2 separate regions of the Homo sapiens genome follow, and region 1 is linked to region 2. The links are contacts of gene promoters, found by promoter capture Hi-C in human tissues and cell types (Jung and others, 2019). All regions are on one chromosome and are shown on one strand. Each heading gives the region's core, a stretch centred on a gene start or on the middle of the fragment in contact. The rest is flanking DNA. Distances are from core to core; before and after follow the strand shown. Region 1 overlaps WNK2 (WNK lysine deficient protein kinase 2). Region 2 holds the start of BARX1 (BARX homeobox 1).

The links. Contacts are between HindIII fragments. The study calls those that stand out against the background at their distance.
Region 1: a contact is called between a fragment that was not itself captured here and the fragment with the promoter of BARX1 in region 2, in 1 of the 25 tissues and cell types used here (lymphoblastoid cells).

What each region holds. Positions count from the first base shown.
Region 1 is chr9:93,315,472-93,321,300 of GRCh38, reverse strand. It overlaps WNK2 (WNK lysine deficient protein kinase 2), which reads right to left. Exons shown (of 30, transcript NM_006648.4): 29 at 3,670-3,781; 30 at 732-934. The coding sequence ends at 909. Among named protein-coding and RNA genes, the nearest start is that of FAM120A, 130 kb to the left of the region's middle. The HindIII fragment of the contact is 4,172 bases long and covers 1,896-5,829 here.
Region 2 is chr9:93,950,629-93,956,612 of GRCh38, reverse strand. It overlaps BARX1 (BARX homeobox 1), which reads left to right and starts at 1,258. Exons shown (of 4, transcript NM_021570.4): 1 at 1,258-1,689; 2 at 3,426-3,717; 3 at 3,800-3,884; 4 at 4,285-4,986. The coding sequence starts at 1,467. The coding sequence ends at 4,449. BARX1-DT (BARX1 divergent transcript) reads right to left here and starts at 779. Exons shown (of 2, transcript NR_144455.1): 1 at 1-779. LOC124902216 (a long non-coding RNA gene) reads right to left here and starts at 1,087. Exons shown (of 3, transcript XR_007061672.1): 1 at 973-1,087. RefSeq lists enhancers at 202-732, 733-1,264, 2,676-3,239, 3,240-3,804. The HindIII fragment of the contact is 32,678 bases long and covers 1-5,984 here.

The DNA of each region.
Region 1 (5,829 bases), core at 2,732-5,231, 640 kb after region 2:
CACTGTGTCATGGATGTAAATGGCATGGCACAGCAATATCTGTGGTGTCTAGTGGTGATGAAGTCCAGGTGCTGTTAGTGGAGGAAATGCTAAATTGCAGTTAGACATTAATGAAAATAGAGATGCAATGCTTTTTCATTGTGATGCATGGGACCCCAAATTCTCCCTAGACCTCTGGACCCAGCATAAGGCTCCTGTGCCTGCTGGCCAGGCTAGGGTGTGGGGACCTTACCACGGCACGTTTCCTTGGTGAGGCCATGTCAACATTCCTCGTTTCTCACACTTAGGACCCCTCCCACGAGTGGGGGGTATGCAGCCCTCCAAGGAGCCAGTGGTCTCAGACCTGCCACCCCACAGCCAGAGGTTTCTGGCCCCAGGCCACTGGTGTTTTCCCTGCCAGTGCAGGTGAATTCTGGAAGGAGGGTGCCTGGGAGGTGGGTGTGGGGGTGGTGGGTGACTTCAAGCCTCCAAAGACCAGAGGGAAGGGTCTGCCTCATGGAGCTCCGTGAGCAAAGGCCAGGAGGCACCCAGGACCCCGAGTCCGTGCCAGCTGGCATCGGGGGGACTTGGAGATCAGCCTCCCCGGGGCCGCCACCTCCAGGGCCCTGCAGAGAACAGGGCTATCCTGAGCATGCCAGGGTCCTGGGAATGTCCCCCCACCCCTGTCACATCCCAGTCACCTGGCTGGCCGAGGGCCACCAGAGAGGAAATAGTTTGAAAAACCAAAGTCCTTTCTGCCCCAAAATATTTTTTATTCTTGCATTACATTTGTGTTTCCAATTGTGAATAAAAAATGCTTAGAAAGTGGTTACAAAACAGCGTGAACTGGACAGGAGGAGCAGCTGGCCCTGAGGGTCCGTCACTTCTCCACTTAGACGGCGTGAAGTGGGCCTGGCGTCTAGGCGGGGTCAGTCAGGCTTCTCACTCTCAGGATCTGGAAAACAAAACCGCGCAGCTGACTGTGGGCCCACCGCAGTGCTGGCCACTCGCCAAGGGCCAGGCCCTGACACCCTCCCAGGAGCTGCCGACGGGAAGGCTGCGCCAGCTCTGCCATGACCCACGCCCTGTGTAGATGGTCTTGTCCTCAGCACAGCCCTGGCGGCCTCTGTCACCTGGACCACCCTTCTTTGTGTGACCAGTCAGCACACTGAACGGCTGCCAGAAACCCAAACAGACGCTCTGCTCCTGTACCGTCTGGAGCATCTGGGGAGTGAGCTGCCCTCCAACACCCAAAACAGGAGGCTCTGGGATGAGTGTTCCTCCTCCCTCCATGCAGAAGCTCGAAGGCTGGCACTGCAGCTCTCTGAGGAGGTGGCCCCACAGCCAAGGCAGCCCCCACAGTGGACCGGGCAGGAGACACTGGGACCCTCAGCTTGCTCACAGTGAGGCCTGCAATGCACACGCAGGAGGGACCACAGTCAGCTCGAGGCTGTCTTTAGTGGGATGCTGGGGGGCTGGCTGCCACCATGCGCTGAGTCCCACAGGATGAGGCCCCACCCTGGATGGCCACCTTCCCTAAGGCCCCTGTGCCTACCAGAAAAGCCACTGCCCCTTGCATGATCCATGGGCAACCCCAGCCCCAAGTCCTCCTCTCAACAAGTCCAAGCTCATCTGAGGAGCTCCCACTTCCCCTGAGCTCGGCCCATCTGGAGCAAAGAGGGTGGCCCCAGGGGCTGCAGCAAGTAATGCAAACCAAGCCTCCTGGAGACAGGGGCTGCAGGTGTGTCTCGCTGACCAGGAGGCTGGCTCCCTCCATCATGGTCACAGCCCGTGGCACTGCTAAGTGTAATCAGGTGCAGAGTGGTGGGCAGCCCAGCCAGCTAACCCGACCAGCAGAGCTGACCGTGCTCGGGGCCCAGGCCACAGCTGGCGGGGGCAGTGTTGGGGGCCAGGCAGCCCTGCCAGATGCCCTGCTCTCAGACCCCTGCCGGGGACAGCCCAGCCCAGCACCCGCAGCCCCTCAGCACCCTCCTCCAGAGGTGTGGATGCAGCTGAGCCCAGAACTGGCTCCCAACTCCTGTGCTCCCTAGGAGGCTGGTTGCTTTGGATTTTATATGGATAGAGGGTAAGAAAAAGATGTTGTTTCACACTGTTTTCGAGCAAAAGTGTTTATTTTTCTCCTTCAGATATACAATCTATTGGGGATTCCGTGCCACTGACCACCATGTACAAGGAAGGGATTCACAGGCAAGGGGGACAGGTGAGGGCAGCCCCCACTTCACTCAAGGAACAGGGCAAGGGGGCCCAGTACAGAGAACAGAAATCTCTTACGACAGCATCGTGCCCTGGCAGAAGATTCTGCATAATCACCTAGAAAATTCAATTCTAACTGAATTGATGGAATAATAGATTTGAACCAAAATAATTTACCCAGTTCTAATAAGTACAGAAACTATACAATTCACAGCTGGGCAGTCCCAAGCAGTCTGCTTTCCAGTGGGAGGTGGAGGAGGCTGGGGCCTTCCCCTCCCACCAAGGGCTGTGTTGTGCCCACTGGGGACGAGTCCCACTGAAATCTCCAGGAGAAGAATGACCCCGCCCTCCGCAGAGCAGGCTTAGGGCTGGACGGGAGAGCGGTCTGCATGCCAGGGGTGAGCAGAGCCACAGGTCTCCATGGAAATCATGGAGAAGGGAGGGAAGTGGGCAGGAGAGAGGGCAGCCTCTCCAGCTGGAGGAGCTGCACTTGTCTCCACAGGGTGGGCGGGCAGCCAGGGTTTCTATGCCCAACACACACCTTATCCTCACTCACAGCAGCCCACTGGCATGGGGGGCATGTCTGCTCACCTAACGTTTTCTGGCGGATTTCTCATGGCCCAGCGCAACAACTGACATTCCCTACTGAGCAAGCAGCTCCGCCAGTGTGCCCTGCCCCAGCGTCCCGCCGTCTCTCAGCCCCTGGATGAGCCCAGGGAACCGGCACTCTACTGAGGACAAAGCAGGGCTCACCTAGCAATGGAAGCTCTTCAATACTTAAGGTAGCTAATTCAATGTTTGTAAAAGGCATTTACAACAGAAAACCAAAGATTGAACTTCAGCTTCAGATTTGTAAACCATTCACATCTCTGCAACTTAAAACAGTAAATAAAGATTATCAATGCACAAGCCAATTGCAAATGAAACCTTTTCCGATAATTTTTTTTAACATATCTTTTCATCAGGGAACGGAAAAGCTGGCATTCAAGGCACTGTACTTCTGCAGGGTGACGACAAGGTTCTAACCATCAACTCAAGTATAGGAAGTGGGTGTGGAGACGGCGCGTGGACCACAGGAACCTAGGAGCGAACAGGGTCTGAAGCCGCAAAGGAAGCAGTCTTGCTGCCCACCCGCTGTCCCCCTCGCGGCTGAGTGCTGTGCCCACAGCAGGCGGTGGGGGGGACTCGGAGGCCAAACCACACCTGGTTTCTCCGGGCGGTTCCGAGGGCGCCATCTGGCAAGGGACAGGGCAGAAGGCTACGTGATCCGCAGCCGGGGGCCAGGCATGCTGACCACAGGTGGCTGCAAGAAGACTGGCAGCACGGGCACCTGGGGGGTGTTCCAGCTGCCCTGTGCCCCCAGCTGGCCCACCTGGCCTGCCCAGGGCCCCCAGGACACTGGAGCTGGGAGCAGGCCTCTGTACTGACCCAGAGGCAGCGCACAGGGTGGGGTTGGGAGGTTGGAGAGGGCAGTACCTGGTGTGGGCACGGACAGGGTCGGGGCGGCTCCGGGAATGACCGTGGTGGACAGAGGGCCGGGCGCTGGGGGCAGACGTGGCATCCCCACTCCTGCTCGAGGTGCGGTCATCTACAAAACACAGAGACGAGAAGAGGAAGGTACACGTGGCTGCAATCAGCTGGCCTCCCTTAGTGGCCCCCAGGGTGCCACAGTTTCTCCATCCTCAGGAGGCAGCAGTCCTGGAACCTGCTGTGACAGGCACCCTCTCAGGGCTGACACCAGAATGATGGTGTGGGGCCAGGAACCATCACCCTCCCTTGTTTGCTTCCCCAAGCTGCAGCCTGATAGCCTCTAGGCCACACACCTGGGTGTCCACCAGCCAAAATGGGACTTGGAGGAGGACTAGTGGGGCCTGGACCCTGAGGGCGCATGAGTGACCCCACATGCCTCTACTCAGCCACCACAAAGCCCTCCTGCTTGGCTGGTCAGTGCCCTCACAGGAGCATGAACCACCCAGGAGCTGGCAGGAGCAGAGCCCCAGGACCTGGGCAAAGCAAGTGTGCAGGGAGGTGATGGCAAGGCAGCCCTTCCACTGTCCCAGCCCGGGGAGAAGCTGTATGCGGGGTGTGCCCCAGGAAGGCAAGGCTGCTGGCCACGGGGAGTCACTCCTCTCCACTCCAGGGAGGGCCCCACTGGGCACTCTTCACAGGTGCATGGAGGGCACTCGGTGACTTCCACAACCCTTCCTGGAAATCAAGCTCGGCAGTCAGGGGCTGGAGGGGCCTCCTTATCTGGAAGGTCCTCTATGGAACCGACAGCTGAGCCCCTGCCCACGACAAAATGCCCAATACCTCCCCAAGGTGCCTCCATGCTTCCAGTCGACACCACGGGGATCTCCAGGCGGGGAGGAAAAGGAGTCAACCGCACAGACTGGACAGAGAGAAGGAGAACTGGCCTCATGCAGATGACAAGACTGTGTATGCAGAAAACCCACAAGAATGGACAAACCAATTTCTAGAACTAATAGCAAATTTAGCACAATTGCAGGATATGGGGTACGAAAGTCAACCATAGTTTTATATTCTAGCAACAGGAAGCTGGAAAAGGAGATTTAAAGAAAAATAACATTTATAATAGCATTCCAAAACATCAGCTACCTAGGGATAAATTTAATGAAAGAGGTATAACATCTTTACACTGCAGAGAAACAAAAAAGATGCCAGTAAACGGACACTACATTCACAGGAACGCTCATGTTGTTCATATGTCAAACCTCACCCAGATAATCAACAGACTGAATCCACTCCCAGCCGAAATCCCAGTGGGCTAGCCTGCAGAAAGTGACAGGCTGTTCCTAAAACATATGGAAATATTAACGACCTGAAAAAAATCAAGAACTTCTTGAAGAAGATCAACACTGAAAGTCTTTCCTGAGCAAAGATTAAACTTCCTAGAAAACTTCAGTCATGAAGAGAGTGTGGTGTTGCCACAATGATAAGGGAATTGCTAAAGCAAACAAAATAGCAAATTCAGAAATGGACCTACACACAGACGACCACTTGACGAATGTCTGCTCAATTCAGTGCAATTCAATATGGAGAGGAAGGGGCTGGAACGATCAGATATGCAGAGAGGAAAAAAACAGATTTACCTCTGCATCAAAATATACTCAAGAGTTCATTTGAGATGGCTCATGGGATCTAAAGCAATAGCTAAAGCTGCAAAGCTTTTAGGAAAAAAAAAATTAAAATTTTTACCATTTCATGTTCACCATTAAGAAAGTGAAAACACAAACCACAGATTGGTAGACTATATCCATTATATACACACACACACACACACACACACACACACACACACACACAAGGGGTCTTCAAAAAGTTCATGGAAAAGACATACCATGAAAAAACTATGCATGACTTTCAAAAAAAATCTTTGTACCCAAATAAACTTGTACTAACTTATTGCAGCATGTCTGAAGAGGAGGTAGTCTGAGGCACTAAGAAGGAGAAGACTTCAGTTTGAAAAGAGCCCCTATCACAATAACGTGAATTCTGCCAAGCAAGAACCAACATCACATGTATGGTGAAGCTTGGGTGGAAGAATGGTGAGATCACTGATGCTTTCTGAAAAGTTTACAGGGTCCATGTCCCCAAAGAAAATAGCAGTTTACAAAT
Region 2 (5,984 bases), core at 9-2,508:
CCCCCTCACTGAGTTCTCACAGTCTCTCTGGAGCCAAAGGTCAGCATCTCCTCAGGACAGGTAAGGAAACAGGCCCAGAAAGGGTCAGTGGTTTCACCAGTAGTGGCAGGACCAAAGAGAGGAGTTCAGCGTAGGGTAGCTTTGGGGTTGTTCACTCCACGGCTTGGGCTTATACTCTTCTAAGGATGGAAAGAAAGATCTAGAGAAGGTACTGCCAACTTCCTCCACCATGTTGGAGCTTTTGAGGCTCCGCAATGGAGCCAGGTCCCACCAGAGTTTGGTCTTTACACTCTCAGAGCACCCACTGGCCCCCTGGCCCCAACTCCGCCCAGTAACAGTTTCTTGATGCCCCAAAGCTGGGAAAAGGCAAAGCTGCATCCTTCCCTTCTCCTCGAATCCTTTTCCTTTTCTAACTAGGGGGATGTAACCAGCCTACAGTCTTCTGGGGGCTGTCAAGGAGGATGTGTCCATGGATCACTTGAATTTCCAATTCAAGCAAATCTCGGCTGGAGAACATTTTTCTCTCAGGGCAGCCCGGAGAGAAATGAGGCCGTACATGGTAAACTGAGGCAGAGGTGGGAGGGGTGCACAGGTGCCGCTACCGCTCTGCCCCTTGCATCCCTGAACGCTGCCTCACCCTTGCCGGGTTGGCGGTGTTGAGCCCGGGACTGGAGGCTGCTTGAGACCACCTCCTTCCCAGCTGAGGAGCGCGGCCTTTGCCCCTCCTCCTCCCGACCTTTCCGGGGCTACCTAAAAGCCGATCAAGCCGCCGGTTTTCTAGCTGTTCCCATTTCTTTACCGCCCCCTTCCTCTGCCCCGCCTGCCTCTGTGCCCTCCGTCACGTCACAGCCCGCTGGCTCTCACGCCTCTTTTGGTCTCTCTGCGCACATCTCGGTGGCGTCTCTGGTGCCCTCACATCACTGTCTGGAATCTTGTTTGGCCCACGCCGTCTGCCTCTGCCCCTTCTCTCACCTGTGTCGTTTGATCCCTCCGACTCTCGTCTCTGGGGGTCTTGCCTCCCGAACTCTCCGGCTCTCTCCTTCCAGGGCGTGCGCTCCGCTCAGTCTCCCTCGGTCTCGGTCGGCCGGCCTCTTTCACGTGGCCCCCTCCTTTTTGGCCTCCCTTCCGCCTCCCTCCCTTCTGGGTCCCTCCCTCCGGCTCAGCCTAGGGGTTGGGGGCGGCGGCGCGGGGCGGGGCGGGGCGGGGCGGTGACGCGGGGCTGGCCGGGCAAGAGGCGCGGCGGCGTGGGGAGGGGGCGCAGTCCCGGGTTCGACCGGCCGAGCCCCGCGCGCCCCGCCCGCGCCCTGCGCCTCCGCCCGGCCGGCCGGCGGGGGAGGGGGCATGAGCCGGCGCCCGCGCGCCGCCCCGAGCTGCGGGCCGGCCTAGAGCCCCGCGCGGGCCCCGCGCCGGAGCCAAGCCGTCGCCGCCGCCGCCGCCAAACCGCGGGCGCAGCAGTGGGCGCCGCGATGCAGCGGCCGGGGGAGCCGGGCGCCGCGCGCTTCGGCCCGCCCGAGGGCTGCGCGGACCACCGGCCGCACCGCTATCGCAGCTTCATGATTGAGGAGATCCTCACGGAGCCACCCGGGCCCAAGGGCGCCGCGCCCGCAGCCGCCGCTGCCGCGGCGGGCGAGCTGCTGAAGTTCGGCGTGCAGGCGCTGCTGGCGGCGCGGCCCTTCCACAGCCACCTGGGTACGTGTGGCGGCCGCGGGGTCGCGGGCCGGGCTTGGCGGGAGACAGCGAGCTGAACCGCGGGGGCGCCCCGAGCCTCCTCCGGCATCGAAGCAGCCCCGGGAAGCTGCTCTGGGAGCGCAGGTTCTGGGACCGTCTCTCGGAGCCCTCCAGGCGGGAGGCGGAGGGTGCAAGCTCCAGGCCTCACAGAAACCAGGCCTCGTGCCCGCGGGCCGCCCGGGGAGGGTGTTCGCTCTTTCCTTCACTGCTTCCCTTCGGCCTCCAGCCCGGGGACCCCGAGTGAGCATCCCCAGTGCAGGCGCACTGCCAGGCTACGGACTCTCGTGGGTGGAAGCGACCTCAGGCCACGGGCGCCTGGGCTTCGCCGCAGAGGGATGGCCGGGAGTGGCCGCGGCTGCCCAACCCAGGGAAGTCGGACCTCTGGGGAGGAGGCCTGCGCTCCCGAGGGCTGGGTGCTGACGCGGGCCCAAGCCGGCCCGGAGTCCCCGGGAGCTCCAGCGGGCGAGGAACGCGGCCTTGGCCGCAGTGCGGACCTGCTTCGGCCTTGCCTTGGGGCCAGAGGCCTGACTGTGAGCAGCTGCCTGGCTGTCCCTTCTGGTTTCAGGTCGGCTGGGCCTCTGCAGGGCTTGAACGGCCTGCGCAGACCTTTTCAGCTTCTGCCCTTTCTTCTAATTTGGCGGGGCCTGCTCTGCCCTGATGGTGCTGTCTCCATCGCACTCCACCCTCGTCTTGTCTTTCCCTATCTCGCTTTCCAACCGTCTGCCGGTCGGCCTCCCTCGCTTCTCTCATTGGGGTCGGCCTGCCTCCCATCTCCCACCTTTTCCCTACGGGTCCTCTGCCCCACATTTACCTGCGCCTTGCCCTGCCCTTTCCGACTCCAGCCAGGCTAGGACTCGCACCTCAGTGACAGGCCTGTCGGGGAAGGGAGGCTCCTACGCTGTAGCCGGGACCCCAGCCCTTCAAGTCGCCTTCCCTGCACCCCCCCACCTCCTAGTCGGTGCTCCCTAGCCTGGAGACGGCAGGGCCAGCGCGCTCCTTCTAAGTCCAGCTGGGACTCGGCCATTCGGCTACCTTTCGTCTCCATCTGCTCTGTTGCTACTAATTCGTTTGAAGCGGGCACACAATCATTTTAGGACTGAAGAAAATGGAAACATCTGCATGGGGAAGCGTCTGAAAATAGAAAACGTGAACAATAATTTCCAGGTTCTCAGGGTACTTTGGAATTTCCGGGAAGCACCCAACTCCGGCCCAGATGACTCCTGGCCACCGCATGGCTGTTGTGCCACGCACGGAAGAGCAAATGTGCACGCTCCGTGCATGTTCTTTTTCTAACGCAGCAAGGCTGATTTGGTTGGAGCAAACGCCATCTTCTTAGGACCAGCTGCCGTTTTCTTTTTGGTTTCTACTTTCCCCGAAAGACAAGACACACTCCGAGTTTCTCGCAGCTGCAAACATGTTCATCAGGAACCCCGAGATCTCAGAGGCAGCTGAGGCCTGGGGAACTCCAGGACAGAACACGGACAGGGTCGAGGAGATACTCCCTCCCAAATCTGGGGAACGGCAACGTTGAGGAGGGTCTCCATCTGCGCCACCGGCGCCGACCGGCAGGGCGTGGAGGTTTTGCGCTGGGAGGCACTGGCCAAGCGCGAGCACCCCCGCGGCACGTGGTGCGGCAGTCCCTGGGGCAGAGGAGCGCGGCCGTAGCTCACCCGGGTCCTCATTCTCTTTCTTCGCAGCCGTGCTGAAGGCCGAGCAGGCGGCGGTGTTCAAGTTCCCACTGGCGCCGCTGGGCTGTTCAGGGCTGAGCTCTGCGTTGCTGGCGGCAGGGCCCGGGCTGCCCGGCGCCGCGGGTGCGCCACACCTGCCGCTCGAGTTGCAGCTCCGCGGGAAGCTGGAGGCGGCAGGCCCTGGGGAGCCAGGCACCAAAGCCAAGAAGGGGCGTCGGAGCCGCACTGTGTTCACCGAGCTGCAGCTGATGGGCCTGGAGAAACGCTTCGAGAAGCAGAAGTACCTTTCCACGCCGGACAGGTAGGGCGGTACAAGGCTGGGGCCAGCGGGCTGTGGGAGTGTGGTCACTTGCCTTGCTGAGGGTGCGCCCTGCTCTTTCCAGAATAGATCTTGCTGAGTCCCTGGGCCTGAGCCAGTTGCAGGTGAAGACGTGGTACCAGAATCGGAGGATGAAGTGGAAGAAAATAGTGAGTGTGCCTGGTGGCTTCCCACCCCTCAGCTTCCTGGGCCATGCCCCGGTGCATGCAGAGCTGCTCTCCTCTTTCTCCCCACTGAGACTCTGCCCAACCCCCCGATTCCCTCGGTGCCTGGTACGCACCGGAATCCTCTCAGTTTTTTCTGCCCCTTGGGTAAGCCAACATTTCGTCCTTTCCCGCGGCACCTTCAGGCCTCCTGGCAGTCTTATGCTCCCCAGGCCGGGCCGCTCCCCAGGCGGCATTTGGACAAATGGCCGCCATTTCCCGGGACATTTCCCCACCATTTCCTCATATGGACCCTGCACTCCTTAGTCCTACCTGGGTTCAAGTCTCCTCGGGGGTCCCCAGTCCACGTGCTGGCTCACCCAGGTGCTGGCGGTCCCCCGTGCAGGTGCTGCAGGGCGGCGGCCTGGAGTCTCCCACCAAGCCCAAGGGGCGGCCCAAGAAGAACTCAATTCCAACGAGCGAGCAGCTTACTGAGCAGGAGCGCGCCAAGGATGCAGAGAAACCGGCGGAGGTGCCGGGCGAGCCCAGCGACAGGAGCCGCGAGGACTGAGGGCGGTATACGGTGCGGGGCCTGGGATGCCCGCGCCACCCGCAGCCCCCTCACTCGGCGGAAACCCGCGAGCCGGCCCTTCCGCGTCCAAGAAGTTTACTTCCTAAGCCTTTTTATTATGATCTTGAATGCGGACAATTGGGGCCAAACGAGGAAGGACACAGACCCAAAAGCCAGACCCAGGTCCCAGCGCGCTTCTGGGCTCTAACCTGGGAGACTCGCATCCAGCCCGGCGGAAGCTACAGTCTCTACCCTGAGCTCCGTGGCGCAGAGCGCTCCACGCGTATTCACGCCCCGCTCCTCGCCTGCACCCCCACCCCGTCTGGGGCCTGCCCTCCCGGCCGGGGAGCCTCCAGGCACACACCCGCTTCTGGACGTCGGGGACCCAGCGGTTGGGCTCAGGCCACAACGGCCTGAGATTGCCCCGGGGCAACCCGTCGGCTCGGCCTGGAGGCCGGGTCCCCGATGTCGCTGGGGCCCCTACCCCCTCTTGCGAAGACGGTGACTTTTTTTCCAATAAAATATTTTATGACACAATCGGGCTCGGTGGAGCAGCTTCTGAATCCGCAGGGGGTGAGGGTGGGGGTGGGGGTGGGCTCGGCAAGATAAGCGGAACGCGGGCAGTTGCTTCTTAAACTTCCTTTCCTCCGGCTCTGTCGAAGGCAGCTGTGCTCTTCACCATCAAGCCCGGGCTAGGCACGGCGGGCGGCTCGGTGGCTGCAGGATCCTAGGAATCGCTTCCACTCTGGGCGTGAGGGGCCAGTCTGAACTCCACCTCCTCTCCCTTGCCAGCCAGAGAGTCGCTGGCAGGAGCGGTCTGGCCGCACCGCGGGTGCCCAAAGGAGCGGGAGCCAGAGGTCCGCCGCAGAGCTCGCTCCGGAAGTGGCCCGGACAGAGAGCCGCCTCGGTTGTTGTTTCGGTTTCCTGGGACTTGAAGGACCAGTTCGTGCGGTCCTTGAGATGGTCTTCACCAACCCTTTATGAGGCGGATGGGAAGTCGAGGACGCAAGGTTTGGACAGAGCCCCCCCACCAGCGCGGTAGCCCGCCCGCGGGTCCTTGCAGCAGCAATGGCTCCCCAGAGTTCTCACATTTTCCGCAGGATACTCAGGGCGGCGGCGCCTGGGCTGCTGAGTTCCACCTCTGGGCAGTGAGGGCACCTGGCCGACGGAGAGAGAGGACTCAGCTGACACCGGCCTAGGGAGGGTGGTCCCTTGCAGGGACACAGCTTGGTTGCATGTGCTCTCAGGTGCCCCCTTCTCATGGAGGTCTCAGTTGCCTTCCCGCAGTCTAGGCTGGGCTCAGGGCTGCCTGTGGGTTCCTGTCCTTGTGCTTCCTGAAGCTGGGGGTGGGGAGGATGACCAGAGGTGGGGATGGAGCGATGACCACTTTACTGGTTAAAGCTCAGGAAGACTATGAAACTTGGCCATTCAGAGTTCCTGAAGCCAGGTCCTTCCAGACTCAAACAGGAAAAGAGATTTAGGTACAACAATAACAACAACAACAACAACAAAAGAGATTCAGGAACAAACAAACA